Regions from separate parts of the Homo sapiens genome. Here region 1 is linked to region 2. Evidence: promoter capture Hi-C in 16 types of primary human blood cells and fetal thymus (Javierre and others, 2016). All regions are on one chromosome and are shown on one strand. Each heading gives the region's core, a stretch centred on a gene start or on the middle of the fragment in contact. The rest is flanking DNA. Distances are from core to core; before and after follow the strand shown.

What was found. Contacts are between HindIII fragments. The CHiCAGO score rates a contact against its expected background, and 5 or more counts as called.
Region 1: a fragment that was not itself captured here is called in contact with the fragment with the promoter of GRM5-AS1 in region 2 in 2 of 17 cell types (erythroblasts and activated CD4 T cells); the score reaches 6.8 in erythroblasts.

What each region holds. Positions count from the first base shown.
Region 1 is chr11:87,953,720-87,960,234 of GRCh38, reverse strand. It overlaps a transcript of RAB38 not described here. Among named protein-coding and RNA genes, the nearest start is that of RAB38, 220 kb to the left of the region's middle. The HindIII fragment of the contact is 827 bases long and covers 3,008-3,834 here.
Region 2 is chr11:88,500,424-88,507,436 of GRCh38, reverse strand. It overlaps GRM5-AS1 (GRM5 antisense RNA 1), which reads right to left and starts at 2,861. Exons shown (of 6, transcript NR_049724.1): 1 at 1-2,861. GRM5 (glutamate metabotropic receptor 5) reads left to right here. Exons shown (of 10, transcript NM_001143831.3): 10 at 1-2,795. The HindIII fragment of the contact is 8,959 bases long and covers 1-4,014 here.

The DNA.
Region 1 (6,515 bases), core at 2,172-4,671, 550 kb after region 2:
GGGAAGGGGCTCAGGAATCTGCATTGTAATAAGCTTTCCAGGTGGTTCTGATGCTTGCTAAACTTTGAGAAGCACTTTTCTAAGTCAATTACACTGTTTGTTTGATTTAAAAGCCCTGAAAATGGAGACAAGATTTGGGTTCATATCCCAGCTTTGACACTCATAGGCTACATAAACTTTGGCAAATTGACTCTAGATTTTCCTTTGTAATGTGTACAGTGTTCTCTGGAGTTTCATTACTTAGGTTATAGGCTAAGCTACATGAATGAAGAAACCCAAAAAACAGTGATTTGAATACATTTATTTCTCTCTGCATAATAGTTCAGAGGTATGAAGGTAGCCCAGAGTAAGTTTGTGGCTCTTTTCTACAAGGTCATCTAAGGACTCAGGATTCTTCTGACGTGATACCCTGCCCCTCCTGAGACATTGTTTTGTTCATATAGTTGACTTGGGCTCATCGATGCTATGTCAAGCTTCTTGCCTGAGGGAAAATAGAAAGGGAGAGAAAGGAAAACAAGTAATTTTATTTTAAAGAAGTGATGCAAAAGTTGCTCATATTACTTTTGCTCATATTCCCTTGGTGAGAACCTGGATATTTGGCTATAACTGGTGGGAGGCTGGAGAATGCGTCTATGAGCTGGCTGGCCAGCTACCTTATACAAATTCAGGAGCTGTTGGTATTCTGATGCTAGTAAAATAGATACTTATAGAAACACATAGCACAATGCTCAGCACAGAGGAATTATTCCACAAATGCTAACGTGAGATGGAATAGTGTGGTCTTGAAGAGTCAGATAGATATGAGTATGAATATGCGTTCTTGTACCTACTTAGTATTTGACTTTGAGAAGATTATTTCTTCTTTGAGATTCAATGTCCTTATTTTCTAAAGTACAAATTACATAAGGTAATAGTCTTAGCTTACTGTGTAGGTTTTAGAATGATGGAGGGTTTAGGCTACCTCCAATTCTAGATCAGAATGCATTTTGATTCCCTTAATCACAATGAGGCAGGAGATATCCTAAATGCGTCGGAATGTTTCACATGTCATTAATTCCTTATCAAACACAACTGCAAGCAACACTGCAATTACTGTGCAGCTATGGGCCCATAGCCTGAAGGTAGGGATCTTAATCCTAGGGCCCATTTGATGATTGGTGGGGTGTACATGGCAGAAATTGTGCCAACAGCCTAAAGCACAGCTTTCAGTTCCGCAGAAGGAGGAGGTGTTTCCATCATTTCATTATATTCTCTAGGGCAGAAATTGGAGGCCTGTGGTGAAATATGATTACAATTCTCTATTGTCTTATTTGGGGTATAAACAAATTCCTCTCTAATCAATTTACAGAAACAAACATAAAAAGCAAATAAGCAGCCTTCTTAGAAAGGGATTATTATACAGGATTTGCATATGTCACTTACTCTGGTGGAGCAGAAATGCAGCCATGTATTTACAAACAAGGCAAACGTATGCCCTGTTCAAGAATAGTGCTTATTATTGGAGCTAGTCCTATTTGTCTTGACATCAAAAATTCCTTTTGATACTTTTCAGTTTTCTCTTTTAGAAAAAGACAATGATTCCTGAAATCTCCAAATTAATAAAGTCAAGGACATCTTTAGGTTTCTTGCTGTCTACTTCCTTCCCTCACAAAAGACACTAGAAGCTGGAAATGGAGACCAGAGTGTTCTAGGTGTATCATAACATTGCTAAGAGCCTCGCTTCCTGGGGTTCATTTTCTCTAATTACTAAGAACAACACTAGCAGTGGAAAGAATAAGATAGGTATGAAGAAAGGAGGTTGGAGACTTTCTTAGCTTGGATCTCCTTAAGAGCAGAGCCCAAGACAGAGGCTTGCATGCAGGGGTAGATGCTTCTTAACTTGGGTTACCTCTAGATAAACCCATCATATGTTGAAAATATGTAGCTAAGAAATGCATCTTATACACCTAACCTACAGAACATTGTAGCTTAGCCGAGCCTACTTATATGTGCTCACAGCATTTACATTGGCCTACAGCCGGGCAAAATCATCTAACAACATAGAACCCCATAGAGTGCTGGTTGTTTGCCCTTGTAATTGCTTGGCTGACTGGGGGCAGTGGCTGCCAGTGACAAAGAGTAGAGTACAGTATATTGCTAGCCTGGGAAGAGATCAAAATTCAAAATTTGAAGTACAGTTTTTACAGAATGCATATGGCTTTCAAACCATCATAAAGTCAAAAATCGTAAGTCGAATCATTGTAAGTCTGGGACCAGCTGTGCTTTATTTGGAAAGTGATATTTGGAAAGTGATTCTAGGGAAGAGAAATGAGCATATCAGGGATCAGAACACGATATCCCAAAATATGGTGTCATGGCATGCTGAGTATTTCGTTAGGAAGGAGATTGGTAGGCCTTAGAAGAAAGGTCACTCTGACCTTCTCATGCTCTCCCTTCTTCCTTTCCCCACGCTCCCCCAAGATGTGTCAAGAATTTTTCTCCCCACCTCAGATTATAGAAGTTAGAACTCCTCTCCCTCAAAGTGAACCATAAAACCTAGAAACGTCACTCTCTGGCCTACCTTCCCTGAAAGCAGGTCATGAGGGTCTTGTTCTAGAGTTCCTGCCCCATATGCTGAGAGAGGAATGCCACATAGAGAGCCCAAGAATAATCTGAACAAGTAGGCCTTGCTTGGTCTCCTCGCAGTTGATTACTATTAGATTCTACTTTCTTTGTCCAATCATGCTTCTTCACAACTTTTCACTTTTTTCATCAGACTTAGAATAAAAGCACACAGTTTTCCCTGGGTATGGGGGTCACATAAAACCCTGGTTAAATAAACTTATGGGTTTTTTTTTCTGTTAATCTGTCTTTTGTTACAGGACTGTCATCCGTGACCCTTATGACGGATGAGAAAAAGTTATTACCTTATTGCCCCTATGGGGGGTGAGGGGAGAGAAGCAGGAAGTAGAGAAAGGCAATCCAAATATGTATGATCCCATTGTCTACTGTGACAGGCAAAGAAGCTTGATTCAGAGAGAACTTTTAAGGAAACTTGTGACATGAATCTTGGAACTGACCACCTAAGGGACAAAGGGGGAATCAATTTGTGGGAGTGAAAAAGTAAATATTTTTCCTCACCCACTGTAAGTTATTACTTACAGTGCTATAACAATAGACAGATTCATAAGAGAAAAGCACAGCCAATTGATTTAACAATGTTTTATGTGACATGAGAGCGTTCGGAAATGAGGACTCAAGGACCCCCCCCCAAAAAACTGCATTTTTATACTTAGGTTCAATGAGGAATGGACAGTCCTGTAGAAATGTCAGTGTACAAAAAACAGGGTGAAACTTCATGATAATAAACTGAAGGTGGGGGGAGGGAACCCAGAAAGGCCCTGAAAGGTTCAAATTCTTCTTGGCTTCTCTGTGTATCATTCCTTCTCTCCAGGTTTGGTGCAGTACTCCTCTGGAATGCGGGTCTTATGACTTACTTTCAGTTAAGGTAGATTAAAAAAAATGTTTTATAACTATGCTTTATACAGAAAAGTGGGGGTGGTCAGAGTGACCTTCTAGCTCCTGTAGCTTTTTCAATTGCTGAGTGCCATGTTTTCACATATCATGTTCTGAGCTCCCACAAATTATTAATTAGTTCCCAGACCCCAGTGGACAAGGTTGGACACGTAGGGGTTAATTATCCTGCCGTTTGGTTTCTACAGACATCTCCTACTATGGCATCTGAGAGACCATGGGGCAGGAGTGGGAGGCCATGGTGCAGGTGATAGAAGCCTGTGCTAAGCAAATCTCTGCAGCAGAGAATAGTGAAGAGGCGAGGACCCAAGAATTTAAGCTTGCATGTGAGTGGTCTCCAATGCAGATGACTAAAGGATATTTTTGTTCTTCTCACAACTTTTTGATTCTAGTGTTATGCTCTGTGTAATTTTATAATAAGAACAATAGCTACAATTTATTTGCTATTTGCTGGATGTAGTTTGAGGGACTTGTGCAACATGTTCTCATTTTATTCTTCATAATAGTCCTTTATCATGACTTTGTATCGTTGATATTTACTTACAAGTAAATATTTTCAGATAAGTTAAATAATTTACTTACTTACAGTTACAAGGTATATGCATGTATGTATGTATGTTTGTTTTTAAAAATTATTTTATTAGCTCAGAAAATATATGAACCATACTGTAGAACGGAGACTTTTAAACATTTTTGGTTTAGCACTTAGTTTTTTATGTCTGCTAATGTACTGAAGCAAGAGTTTTATAAAATTGCATTTTCTCTTTTGACATGTCTTGTTAAGAGAAAATACAATATTTTCTATTCTGTCCTACTTGTGTGTGTGTGTGTGTGTGTGTGTGTGTGTGCATACTGTTTGCTACCCATTATATTGATTTTATCACTCACTAATGAGTTATGAGGCATGACCCCACAGTGTGAAAACGGTGACCTAGAAAACCAATATTTTATAGAAAATATTCACTTTCGGATGACAGGGGTCATCTGAAGCCTCATGAATGCCTAGCTCAATGGATGATTGACAGATGATAGAAAGATTGATTGATAGATAGATGATTGATAGATATAAGAGCTAAATGTTGTGCTTATTTTATTCATTTAAGTTTGGCTTATAGTTAGCTACGGGCTTTATACAATAGCTTTAGGCTTCGTTAAACAAAAGAGTCTATAGGATAAGTCATATTGTCTACTGATACTTTAAATAATTTTAACTTTTATTTTAGATTCAGGAAGTACATGTGCAGGTTCGTTATGTGGGTATATTACACGATACTAGGTTTGGAATACGGATGATCATGTCACCCTAGTAGTGAGCATGGTACCTAACAGTTTTTCAATGCTTACCCCTCCCGCTTCCAGCAGCCTCCAGTGTCCATTGTTGACTTATTTTATTTTGTAATGGGAACTGAAATTTTGATAAATATTCTCACTTGAGACTAGAGAGGAAATATATTTCCTTTATAATTTGGATTTGCTGGATTAAAGAATAAGAGAAGAGCAAGAAGAGGAAAAAATAAATGAAAGCATGTGGAAGAGTGCACCAATGTGGAAGAGTGTGTGCCAATGTGGCTTTCATGGACTTCTTGTGGGAGTCAGATGGGGCACCCATGGGCCAGTGAACACTACTGCATGCACAGCTGCTTTGCAGCTCCCACTATGCTCCTGCTCTTTTCTTCTGCTGTGCTCCTTTTGCAGTCTGTTCAACAACAATCTTTTCACCAAATTTACTCCAACCCGCTACTTAGTATATATGATGCAATATTACTAATTATCAGAAATTCTTTCCTCTGCTTATTTTGAATATTGCCTTTACAGGTTCTGGAGGTGGAGCTGACACTTGTTTCTTCTTTCATAAACACGGGATAATGCTTTTCATCCCAGATGAAAGGGTGAGTCTTTAATGAGATAATGTGTATAGCACAGTAGGTGCCCATCACATTTTAGCTAAAAGTGTCCTTGCTTTCTGCAGTGCACCAAATCCACTTCCTCCTGCCACTGTGGTTGAAGCCTGCTCCCGGGCTCGCCTATACCTTATCTGGTCCTGCCTTCCTGAGCAGCTGATCCTCTTGATGGTGTGTGGTCACTTCCTGAAAGCTAGTGGTGGCTTTGTGAGTGCTCACAGAAAACTGAGGAAAAATTGTTCAGATAAGGCACAGAAATTTCTCAACAAGGCTGTTCCTTCTCTAGCGTGCATTTATGCAGGTCTTTCAGTAGGTATTGAGACTTGAATATGTAGAAAATCTTTCTTTTTCTATCTTTCTGTGACAACACAGCACACAAATTCCCTGAAGACCAATTAGTCACCTTTATTCAGAAATTTAGGCTGAAAAAGTAGTCTTTATCTGGAACATTTCCAAACTCAAGGGAGAGACAGAGAGGAGATGGGGAATTATGTGATGAGTCTCAAAGTTCTGGCTGTTGTTCCCACCATGATGCCATTGGTAGGAGTTCACATGCTCACCCCTGAGTTCAGCAGGGTGGATGCATCGTCCTCTCACAAGAAGGACAATCAAAGGAAGGGGATCCAGAATATTTAGCAATCATCAATGCTACTGATCAACCACCAGACACAAGACTACATTTTAACTCAAAATCATTGGATGTTCTTATGTATCTCAGCTTGTGTGCACATTTACATGAACATGGCCACCCTCATCTAGGATCAACAGCATTCCACAGCACACTTTAGGGGGTCCCACCTCTGTGTCTTTGCTCATATCATTTCCTCCTGCTGGAATGTCTTTCCTCCATGTTCAAATTTTGTAGATTTACATCAAAACAGGAATAGGAAATTCAAAAATAAATAAATACAAATAGCTAACGAAATTGTTCAACCTGACAAATAGTAAATGGAAAAAAAAAAAAACACTAAAACACAGATTCCATCTTGGGCCTAAAAAAGGCAAGCATTTAAAGAGAAACATACAGTATTGTTCAGGGGGAAGCAATACAGATATTTTCATTTACAGTAGTTTCCCCTTATCTTCAGGTAATATGTTGCA
Region 2 (7,013 bases), core at 1,612-4,111:
AAGTCAGCTTAGTGGAGATTTAGCTATGCCAGTGAGCAGTGATTTTAACTATTCTTGGCTGCTTAAACAGGGCAGCTATGAACTATGACAAATGTAGATTTTTCAAAGCAATACAAAATACTAAAAAAGAGGAACCTTAATGAATATTAACCACACAGTCTTTCTTAGCCATTCCAAAAAGAGGCAAAGCAATTCTTATTTTCTTTTTTAAAATAATGATTAATATGATTTTGTGCACTTCATACTGTCACTTTTTAAAACTACAGAAAAGAGATTTAGAGTATAACAGAAACAAGTGTGCTTTGATAGTCTCAAATAGGTAGAATTCATAGTTCAAGACCTGAATCCACTGTCATCTCTTTCTTCCTCCCATTGCAGCTATCCTCAGGTACCAAATGTTTTGATTTTTAAATAAGGATAGTAATAAATGGAGGAGGTGTCCTATAAATTTAAAGTTCAGTTGACCCAGCCTTATACTTAAGATAGCCTTATGAAAAATATGTGCTGTGAGGCAGAAGTATATTTTGGCAGAGAGAATAATAAATAAAACTTTTTCTTTTAGCTCAATATCCTTACTTTGGTAAGTATTTTTTTTTATTTCACATCTACTTAACAGAAAATAAACTGAGAAATAGAAGTCAGTCCATTGGCATAATTTATCATTCTTCACTTTAAAAAATTCTAATAAATATTCTGCTTGAGTTTTCTTTTCTGCTATTTGTTCTTACTTGCAACTTTAAGTCAAACCTCCCAATACAAAACATTAAAAGCTAACATTAATGTACTAAAGTATTAATTTAAAAGAAATCGAACCTCCCATGCTAGATTTGAAAATAACATCATCACAGCACCCTGATCCCAAATATTACACCGAGGCTTTTAAAATGTAAGTGAAATCTAGCTAAGTTTCATGGTTTCATTAAAAGCAAATGTCTGCCTCTATCTGAAAAACAAATGGAAATCTTTTGAGGTGTTAATACCCTTTGGATCCTCATCAAAAGGATGGCATTCACCTGAGGATTCCTATCTTGACTTCTTAGGTATTAAAAACCTTTCTTGATATGCTCTACATTTTAAAATTTGTTTTATAAAATCCTTATGTTGATTTTCATTTTATTCTCAAGTACAATACGTTTCACTCTAGACCAGTTGAAGAACATGTTTAAACTTTGTTCATGGTCAAATTCATTTTCTATTTTTTTAGTAACATATCTCTTAAAAAGCACACTACCTTATAAAAAACTTCATCAGAAATTAAATTTAATGCAAGTAAATTGCCATCTGATACTTCCACATGCTATCATAATCAACTGTAATAATAAAAATGATTTATCCAATTAGAAAAGGACAAGATATATTTTTCTCTGTATTTCTATAACTTTTGCCACTCCATTGAATACATTGTATGTTGGACATAAGATTATTAGTAATGCATTCTTGAGATCTTTTATTTTGGAATGATGCTAACTCTGTCTCTTTGCCAATTCTAATACCAGGTTCCAAGTAATAACTCTACAGTACAAAGAGAACTGAATATTCATTCTAGGGCTATAGGATATGAACTTCACAATTCATTTGGGTACATTCTCATTGAATTTCCTTCAAAACAATCTGTTCCTGGTGCCCAGTGATAATTCAGTCGGGACCAGCATGACTAAAAGGAAGGGGATATGCTAAGGCTCAGCAAAGTGACCCTAAATGAGAGATATGTCCCAGGATGGAAAGAAGAAGACGTGGTTTAACCAAGTTATACTGACTAATCTAAGCAGTCCACTCATCCTTCCATTTTGGGAAAGGAGTGGGGGCAGCCTAAGAAGAACATATCTGGATTGGGAAGAACCGTCTTTCTGGGCTAGGGATGGGGAACAGAAAGGGAGTATGGAAAGAAAAATTATAAGAGATTTGACTGAAGCAAGGAAAAAAAGCAAATCCCCAAACGTGCTAATCCTTGAAAGTAACTATCTTTCCCAAACTACTGCTGTTACCAGCAAGTGATCAGGAAGACTAGGAGCTATTTCTGACTGTAAATGAATTGTATAATAGCTCTGCTGCAGTTCTGTGACTTCCAAGCCAGGAATTAAATGCTCTTTTTAAGAATAACAAAAAACAAAAGCATTTCCTATGCTAGTCTCCCAGTAAAATGTACATGTTTTGGAGACTTCAAAGGTATTATGTGAGTTCACATTTAGCAACAGCTTATTAATAACCCTCAAGCTGTCAGAATCTCTATAGTTACCATTTACAATTTTATACTGTGAAAAAATACAGATCAGTGAAAGCATAAAGACAAGTCAGAATTCACTTTGAAGAGGGTCTGAGGCCTGGGAGAGTCTCTACTGTCTATTGAAGAATGAGGCATGTATAAAATAGTTGGTTGAATTTCACTGATCTTCCCAATGTGAACAAATATACTATGTATATTGTGTGTATTTCTAGAAATCAATGGCAGCTGCTGATGGTGTTGTAATTAGAAATCTATATAGATTATAGATGTTTTAGAAAGATGGTGCCAATCCTAAAAGATTTGTGTGGGCTAAAAGTGCTTGTACTTACTTTTTTCTGCACTTATAACTGATTTGGTTTTAAAATTGTGTGCGTGTATCTGTTCTTTCTCTGTTGTGGCAGCTTGTACTATTAAAATAATAGAGAATGTTAAATTATTTTGATGTGAACTGCAAATGATTTTTTTTCATAAAGTTTAACATTTTTATCAGCATTGTTTTGCTTTGTACTTGTATAAATATGTTTTATTTTAGCACTTCAAAATATACTTGCCTGTTTCTCAGTTGTCTAAATCATGTTGTACTTGGTGTTTGTGAAGCCAGTTACTTTTCAAAAAAATTAAAAAACCTATAATATGATTTTAAGATTATTCCCCTCAAATGTTTAGAATGTTGTCTTAATAGTGTTTTCTGAGATGAAAAGAGCCATGATACTAATTAATCTTGAATACTGGATGATCTATACATTTGAATTATGGGGTTTACAAAGTAAGCAGTGGACTGTATAGATTTAAATGAAAATATAAACCAACCACAAACCAACCAGAGATGTTGTCCCCAAACACATCTACAAACAACTGTTACATAAAGAAGTACTTAAAAAAATATATAGGAAATATGCATTGTTTATGCATCTAGACATACAAATTATAGAAATAGTTTCATAATTATATGTGTTGATAGAGGTAACATCACACAGATAAAATAGATTATTTGTGTGTGTATAGATGTGTGTTTACAAACATACATATTTATATAGACATTTGACTTTTGAGTCCATCTGCATGTGTCTCTGTGTATATGTGTGTTTGTGTGTAGATGTATGTGCATATTACATAATTTTTCCAGAAAAAAAAAAAGTTTTACTTTGACTGATTCTTGAGCAAATATACATTCCCTGGACACAAATTAGTGAAAAACTAACAGCAGAATATAAGGTAGATGCTTGATGTATGGAAGAGAAAAACAAGGTATATTTAAAAATATATTTGATTTATGCTTCTGACATTGTATTAAATGCATAATGATATATATACATATGTAGATACATATATTATACAGAATGTGTTTGATCTTAACAAAGAAAGCCATTTTATCTGTTTTGTCAGACTCTTCCCTTCAGTATCTTTTATTCTAACGTGATATGAATGGTAATATGTTCACATAAAATTGAGGATGAAGTGACATATACAAACCAGGTACAGGAAATTACCTTCTAAAAATCCAAAGAGCCTTATCAGACTCCATCAAATTATGGAAGGCCATTTAAAACCAGCGGATGCAATAGAAATAGCATTGAATTAAAAGCCAGGATCTCTTACCTGTCACCAACTGACTTTGGATAAATCACTCTGATTTCTCTACAACTTGTTCCTCTTGCTTTAAATGCAGAAGTGAGTTACAATAATCTGTGAAGTTTCTATCATTTCAACATTCCTGATAAATGCTCAATAGTAGCTATTATTAGTGTCAATGTAGTATTTAGTATACAGTTAATATTCAGCAGGAAGCTTAAATTTGTTATATCAATGTTATTTGTGGAGCTTAACAAGTTCCTGTCCAACTTAAAGCATATATCCTGGAGGAAACCTATTGAGGTTTGAACTCATATGCAACCTTGGAACTGTCTATCAAGGACAACTTAGTAAATTGATATTGAACACCACAGAGAGAATGCTTTTCCTCTGTTATAATTGCTGCTGAATGCTGGCCAAGTTTTTGGTTATGCTGTACATGAATGATCAGTTTTAGAACATAAACAATTTGCAAATATTTACTTTGTATGATAGCTAGGCAGAAAGGTAGGTAAGCACATAGATAGGCAGAATTATATTAATGAAGTTATCTCCTTAAGCAAAAGCTTGGTATTTACATTTTCTCTCACAGTATTTTAAAACTCAGAATCAGTTATTACATCTCACTCTGTTTATTACTTTTAGGTTATTATGTTAGTAAATAAGTTCTATGAAGAGAATGTTTAAACTCATCTTCTCCAGCCACTCTTAGAATCCTGAACCAAAAGTTTCCAGGAACACTTAACCTCCACTAGAATAAATGTTTTAAATTACTGTTACACCAGGACAAAGACATTTATTTTTGCCAGGACATAAGTCTCTTTGAGGTATGATCTATATACAGGATACCTATGTGATATACATATCAGACACTTTGGCTTATTTATGTATAGCTTGTATTTTTATTCATTGACATTAAAAATAAAAATTTTCATACTATCAGATTTCTATGATGAGATAGATGTTATATTTTAAATTATACAAATTCTATGTCCGTGAAAACCACATAATAAATTGTGGCTTTTCTGAACTGCTGAATAGTAATAGGTGATTCATAAAAGTTCTTAGAGTCTTAAAAGTTTGAAAAATGTAGTAATTCCAAATTAAATGGCTATCTTCACTTCGGAAGTTACCAATTTATAGTATTCTTTTTTTTTTTTTTTGAGACGGAGTCTCGCTTTGTAGCCCAGGCTGGAGTGCAGTGGCGTGCAGTGGCGCGATCTCGGCTCACTGCAAGCTCCGCCTCCCGGGTTCACACCATTCTCCCTCCTCAGCCTCCCAAGAAGCTGGGACTATAGGCGCCCACCACATCGCCGGCTAATTTTTTGTATTTTTAGTAGAGACGGGGTTTCACCATTCGCAGGATGGTCTCGATCTACTGACCTTGTGATCCGCCCGCCTCGGCCTCCCAAAGTGCTGGGATTACAGGCGTGAGCCACCGTGCCCGGCCCAATTTATAGTATTCTAATATCCATTAACTTTGCTAATGAAGCTGTCTCCTCAGAGTAGAGTTTCATGAAAAGAATTTTGGAAATGCTATGATATAAAAGTTATAATTTATACACACTTTTTCTTTTAGTTTTCAAAATTCATTGCCATTTCCATGATGATCTCCTTAGGCCTTTAGAGAAGTAAACACAGATTGATAGAGTTATAACATTGTCTTCAGGAGCCATTTTACTGAACCATTGGAAGTCTTGCTCAATTTTATTATTTGTTCTCTTCCCATTTTTTGATTTCTTAGACCTCTGTCAGCACATTTACTTTACTTTCACGGGTCAAGCTGAGGGATTTCTTTTACAATTTATGTTCTTTCATTTTTGTTCAAAACGTTTTGAACCAAATGAAATTAAGTTTCCTTAACTTCAACAGCCTCAGATGAAGCAATATGTGAGATACAGCATTAATAGATGTTGCCTAACCAGTGAAATGTATTTCAAAAGCAGTAGAAGTCTATCAGCTTATTATCCAGAAGCTATTTTTAGAAACTCTTTCTAACTTAAAAACATAAGAGCAAAACTACATGAACACATCTATAACACATACCACATAAATGCATTTCTACTCTTGCATATTTAAGATAATGACTTTAGCCCTTTACTTCCCTATATGTGTGGTACTCTCTATCATATTTTCTGAAGAGCTTAAATCCCATCATTAGCCCTAATAATTCATCTTACTCTTCAAAGAGGAATGAAACAATCTAAATGTATACAGAGAAAAAAAGATCTTGTTTTGGGAAGACAAGTACCCACTCTAATAACCCGAGACAACTTAGCAACAAAATTAGGAGAACATCCTAGCTAGTTCTATCCAGTCAGTATGAAAGAAGCCAGTGGAAATGCTTTCTTATTCTTTGTATGGCTATAACAAAAAAGGACCAAAGTTGGTCGGGTGACCCATCCCAGCACTTTGGGAGGCCAAAGCAGGCGGATTACTTGAGCCCAGAAATTCAAGTTCAGCCTTGGCCACATGGTGAAACCCTGCCTCTACAAAAAATACAAAACTTAGCTGAGCCGAGATCATGAAACTCTGTCTCAAACAACAACAACAACAGCAACAAATAGAATGAAAGAAAAAGAAAGACAAGCACAAAAGTCAGATTCTAAAGAATAAGACGAAGATACAACCATTTCTGATTGACAAAGCACAGGTCAGGAGCGCAAGAAAAATGTGAGTGATGACCACAGGGCCAACAAACAGACTTAAATGCCCAAATAAATTAAAGAAAGTTAAGAAGCACTCAGAAAAAGAATAATGCAACCATGTCCTTAAGTGATGGTATTTGCTGAACCAGCACCATCAGTTAACCAGTTCCGATATATACAAAGCATTTAAAGGAGCAAATGATAAACAAAGGCAGGTGTAAGAATATTAATGTCCAATAAGAAATAATTAAAAATAAAAGCCATTAAAAGGATTAAAAGAAATATTTAAAATTGATAAAAAATCTACACAGAAGGTAGAACAGTGATGAACCTATATGTGCTTAAAAATAGGGCTTCAAAGCCTAATAAACAAAGATTATTGGAAACACACGAGGAAAAAAAATCCACAATCACAATGACTTGCTTTAATATATTTAACTGGCAAATACATCAAGAAGGCAAAAGAAAAAAAAAAATCTATGTAATTAAGTAACACAAATAGCAAGAATAATCAAACACATCTACTTAGAGGTTTGTTCCTATTAACAGAGGACAGACATTCTCTTTCT